2 separate regions of the Homo sapiens genome follow, and region 1 is linked to region 2. The links are contacts of gene promoters, found by promoter capture Hi-C in blood cells and fetal thymus (Javierre and others, 2016). All regions are on one chromosome and are shown on one strand. The core of a region is centred on a gene start or on the middle of the fragment in contact, and the rest is flanking DNA. Distances in the headings are between cores, read along the strand shown. Region 1 holds the start of OR5AP2 (olfactory receptor family 5 subfamily AP member 2). Region 2 holds the start of OR5M10 (olfactory receptor family 5 subfamily M member 10).

Region 1 (2,700 bases), core at 184-2,683, 65 kb after region 2:
TCTCTGAAGGACATCTCTGCAGAACGCCATGTAACAGTGGCTCAGTCTTCGTCACAATTCAACTCCTTCTGTCCAATCCTGCTCCCCTCACTATATATTGTTTGTGAGAACACTCTGATAAACTTTCTGCCTAAAAATATCTCTCTGTCTCAGTTTGTTTGCCCAGAACCCAAAGACACCAATGTTTGTATAATAAAACTCAGACTGAGATAAGCTTAATATTTAAATTAAAACTTAAGTCCAGATTAGCCAATTCCAAGTGTTTTGATACTTTTTCCAGTCCCAACCTTCATCTAGTGTATTGGTGCATCAAAGGGACCCGTGTGTGTGTGTGTATATATATATGAGATACTAGGATATTAAAAAGTATACTTCATTTTAAATTATCTACTTTAACACAGAGAAACAGCTTAAACAATCAGAGAATACAGTTAACATGAAAATGTATTTTCTTCTACGTAACAAATGATGGGTAACATGGCTCTACAAGATGTGTTTCCATAAGATCTTCTTTAGGGCCTTTTTTACATCCTTATTTTTTAAACTATAGATGAGGGGATTTAGCACAGGGATTATTACTGTATAAAAGACAGAGACAACCTTGTCTTGCTCCATTGAGTAGCTAGATGTAGGGCGCAAGTACATGAAGAGGATTGTTCCAAAGAATATGGTGACAGCCATGAGGTAAGAGGCACAGGTGGAGAAGGCTTTGTGCCTGCCCTCTAACGAAGGCATCTTCAAGACGGCAATGAAGATACACAGGTAGGAAATGAGGACAATCATAACACAGCTGATGACAATAAAACTTGAGAATGCCATGATCACAATGCCATTGAAGTGGGTATCAGAGCAAGAGAGTTTGAGCAGTGGCGGGGTGTCACAGTAGAAATGGTTGATCCTATTAGAACCACAAAAGGACAACCTAAAAGTCATCCCTGTATGTATGGCTGCATTTCCACAACCTGCTAAGAAGGAGGTAGCTATTAGCAAAAAGCAAATTCTCCCAGACACGAGAACTGGGTAGAGCAGGGGGTTCCAAATGGCTGCATAGCGGTCATATGCCATCATGGCCAACAGGAAGCACTCAGTCCCCAGGAAGGAGCCAAAGAAGTAGAACTGGGCAGCACATCCATGAAAAGAAATGGCCTTATTCTCAGCCATGAGGTTCACCAGCATCTTGGGAGTGACGGAAGAAGAGTAAGAGGCATCTACAAAAGAGAGGCTACTGAGAAAGAAATACATGGGGGTGTGGAGACAGAGATCAATCTTAATCAATACAATCATCCCCAAATTGCCCACCATGTTTGCCATATAGATCAACAGAAACAATGCAAAGAGGACTCCTTGTAGATCTGGATTGTCGGAAAGTCCTAAGAGGAGAAATTCTGTTACTTCTGTTTGATTTCTGCCTCGAACCTCTTTCATAAGTCTCATCATTTGAGCTGCAATAAGAAAGAAGATGCACAGTGGAATTTAGTCAGATGAATACATGATGGAGCTATAATATATTTTTAGTGAAACAACTTCTAACAGAAGAGCAAAAAGTGAAAAGCATAATAAAAGGTATGTTGGATTTGATGCCAAATCAAAAGACTTGTAGTACTAGATGTGCTGTCTACTAATGACTGAAGCAAGTGATTTAGTGTGTATTAACTATGGTCATTCCTACAGTTAACTCTTTATTGAATAATTAAAATAACTTATTCTTAAGATGTGACTGTCATAATTACTTGTGATAAATAAATTAATTTATATATACTGACATACCCTCCAGACACAACTTCTGGAGAAGGATGATAGAATGAATTCAGGACACTTACAATTCCTCCTCAGTACTAATAGAATGAATAAAAATATTGAAAGTTAATAAAATTAATCTATAGTGCCAGACAAGAAAAATAGTTGGGCTGGGCCTGGTGGCTTACAACTGTAATCCCAGTACTTTGAGAGACCAAGGCAAGGCAGATCACTTGAGCTCAAGAGTTAAAGACCAGCCTGGGCAATGTGGCAAAATCTCCTCTCTGCAATATTTAAAAAAAAAAAAAAAAAAAGCTATGTGTGGTGGCTCATCCCTGTGGTCTCAGCTACTCAGGAGGCTGAGGTGGGAGGATTGCTTGACCCCAGGAGTTTGAGGCTGCACTGAGCTGGGTTTGCACCACTGCACCACTCCAGCCTGTGCAGTAGAGTGAGACGGTGCCAAAAAAAAAAAAAAAAGAGAAAGAAAGAAAGAAGGAAACAAAGAAAGAAAGAAAGAAGGAAGGAAGGAGAGAGAGAAGGAAGGAAGGAAGGAAGGAAGGAAGGAAGGAAGGAAGGAAGGAAGGAAGGAAAAAAGAAAGAAAGGAAAGAAAGAAAGAGAGAAGGAAAGAAAGAGAAAAGAAAGAAAGAAAGAAAAACAGCAGAATCTCTTGGGGTAGAGGAAGAGCTTAAAAATGCCTGGCCAAAGAAGAAAATAGAGAATATTCCCACACAGCCAGTACAGTTCGAACCCCACTCTGATTTTCCATAATAAACATCTACAGAGAACAGAATAGGGTCAGTTAAATAGTAATTTTCCACAATTCATTCCAATATTTAGAGAATCAGATTGTAAGAATGAGTAGGCATCCCCGATAAAAATGGCAGAAGTAGCCAAGCCAGTGAAAATCTCTAATACTCACATTCACAAGTTCTCAAGAGAACCAGAAAACATCAGAAGTAGCA
Region 2 (2,700 bases), core at 96-2,595:
ATGCCCGGCATCATTTTTTTAAAAATGTAAAATTAGCCACCCTATCTGGAGCCTCACTATGGCTCTATGGATAGTAATATTCAAAGGGGTTGGATTTTCAGAGTTTCTCTCAGGCTAAGTTAGTTAAAAGTTTACCCCCAAGTAAGTAAACCCAGTATTTTCATACAGAATTATTAGAAACCAAACAATTTATATTCATAGAATCTCTGACAAATAAAACATTATTAATTTCAACATTAAGCTTTTTATTTTTAAAAACTAAATCTTCAAAGTGTTAATTTTGAGAAGAAACTAAAGTGGTTACTAAGAGCCCATACTGTTAAATAATAACTACACTAGGTTTTTCCATTTCAGTTTGTTACCCCACAGGCACTTAGGGATTACAAATAAACACAGGCCTAAACTGCAATTTTACAAAAGGATTTTCCCCTAATCATTTGTTGTATGGCAAGGATTACATCTCTGTTCCGTAGGCTATAGATCAATGGGTTCAGCATTGGGCTCAAAAAAGTATAAAAGACTGCAATTATTTTGGACTCCTCTACAGACTTCTCTGATGGAGGCCTTACGTACATGCAGAAGAGGGTTCCATAAAACAAAGTGACTATTGTCAGGTGGGAAGCACACGTAGAAAAGGCTTTGTGCCTGCCTTCAGCAGAACGGATCCTGAAGATCGCTGCAAAAATGAAAAGATAGGACAGAAGAATGATGAAGAGAGAGCTTGAGAGAGTAAAGCCTGCAACTACAAACATTGCCATCTTTTTGACACGGGTGTCAGAGCAGGCCAGCATGATAAGAGGAGGATCAGCGCAGTAGAAATGATTGATTTCAAGGGAGCCACAGAAGGATAAGTGAAAGGTCAGCAGTGTCTGAGAGAGCCCATTAAGGAAGCCATACATGTAAGGCACAGTGACCAGAGAGATGCAAATGTTCTTGGACATCCTGGAACTGTAATGTAAAGGGCTGCAAATGGCTACATAGCGATCCAATGCCATTGAAGCAAGGAAGTAAAACTCAGTGATCACTAGGGCGATGAAGAGAAGACACTGTGTGAAGCATCCAGCGTAGGAGATGGTCTTCTGTTCTGAGAGGAAATTGTGCAGCATATTTGGAGTAACATTGGAAGAATAGCAAATGTCTACAAAGGAGAGGTGACCAAGGAAGAAATACATGGGTGTTTGCAGTTGGGAATTGGTCCTGATCAGCAGGATCATGCACAGGTTGCCTGCCAGTGTGATTAGGTAGATCGCCAGGAACACCCCAAACAGGATCTTCTCTAGCACTGGGTCGTCTGTCAGTCCTAAGAGAATGAATTCTGTCACTATGGTGTGGTTTGGGGACAACATCTTCTTATTTCTTGAAAACTGAAAGTGACAAAGAATGTGAGGATTCTCTCTGATCCAGATTTGGCATTTGTTTCATCCATTTATCATTCACTCATTCATCTATTCATCTAGGCACCAATTACTTTTTTCAATAAACACATCAGAATTTCTGCACAACGTTTTCTCTTTATATGTGTGTGTTTTCTGTCTCTTTTTGTATCTCAAACCCACACACACACAGGCACATTCTCTATTTCTGTCTCTTATATATATACATTTATAAATTTATACATTAATGCATTTATACTTGTCTTCTTGGTGAATTCTACATTTGGTAATTATTTTCAAGGTTTGTGAGGGAACAAAAAAAACAAAGAAATGAATATCAGATATTAATATTAGCATCATTTAAATAAATAAATGTAGGAAGTCCAATCTTCAGTTTCCCTCCATGTCTGATATCTTATTATTTCAGATACAAAACAGAAGAAAAAAATTAAGGTAGCATTTTCACTTAAAACCTATGACTGTCGGCCGGGCGCGGTGGCTCACGCCTGTAATCCTAGCACTTTGGGAGGCCGAGGCGGGCAGATCACGAGGTCAGGAGATCAAGACCATCCTGGCTAACACTGTGAAACCCCATCTCCACTCAAAATACAAAAAAGTAGCCAGGCGTAGTGGCGGGCGCCTGTAGTCCAAGCTACCGGGAGGCTGAGGCAGGAGAATGGCGTGAACCCGGGAGGCGGAGCTTGCAGTGAGCCGAGATCACACCAGGGCACTCCAGTCTGGGCGACAGAGCGAGACTCCGTCTCAAACAAACAAACAAACAAACAAACAGAAACCTATGATTGTCAGTGAACATTAAATTAGTTAAACTTAGTGCTTGATATATGGCTAAGAATATACAAAACCAAGAACTGTTTTTTCACTTTGAAATTTTACCTGCCTGTTTATTCATGTACACTGACTGCATAGCTTGATTTTTTTGTGTGTATTACAATTCCTGGGGTTATTGGAGTGAACAAATTTTCCAGTTTCATGGAGCTCACATTATAATATGAGAAATAATGGTTAAACCCACAGAGAAAGATACATATTATAATTTCAAGTAAAAGCTGGGTCTGTGAAGAACAATGAATGTGAGATTCTTTTAGATGACTATTCAAAGTAGCCTTTTCTGAGAATGCAACATTTGAACAGTAAATAAACAATTATAGCACCTGAAGGAAGAGAGTGAAGTTTTTTTGTCTCCATTTATATGCCACTAAACTACTTATTAAAATATTGTTAGAGAATCACAGAACATTGTTAAAAGCAGTCTTTGCTGCCAACTCAAGCCACTCTCTCTGAGTTCTTCATGAAAATAAGCTATGAC

What was found. Contacts are between HindIII fragments. The CHiCAGO score rates a contact against its expected background, and 5 or more counts as called.
Region 1: the fragment with the promoter of OR5AP2 here is called in contact with the fragment with the promoter of OR5M10 in region 2 in 7 of 17 cell types (neutrophils, fetal thymus, activated CD4 T cells and 4 more); the score reaches 10.9 in neutrophils.

What each region holds. Positions count from the first base shown.
Region 1 is chr11:56,641,006-56,643,705 of GRCh38, forward strand. OR5AP2 (olfactory receptor family 5 subfamily AP member 2) reads right to left here and starts at 1,434. Exons shown (of 1, transcript NM_001002925.1): 1 at 484-1,434. The coding sequence starts at 1,434. The coding sequence ends at 484. The HindIII fragment of the contact is 8,469 bases long and covers 213-2,700 here.
Region 2 is chr11:56,576,376-56,579,075 of GRCh38, forward strand. OR5M10 (olfactory receptor family 5 subfamily M member 10) reads right to left here and starts at 1,346. Exons shown (of 1, transcript NM_001004741.1): 1 at 399-1,346. The coding sequence starts at 1,346. The coding sequence ends at 399. The HindIII fragment of the contact is 7,953 bases long and covers 240-2,700 here.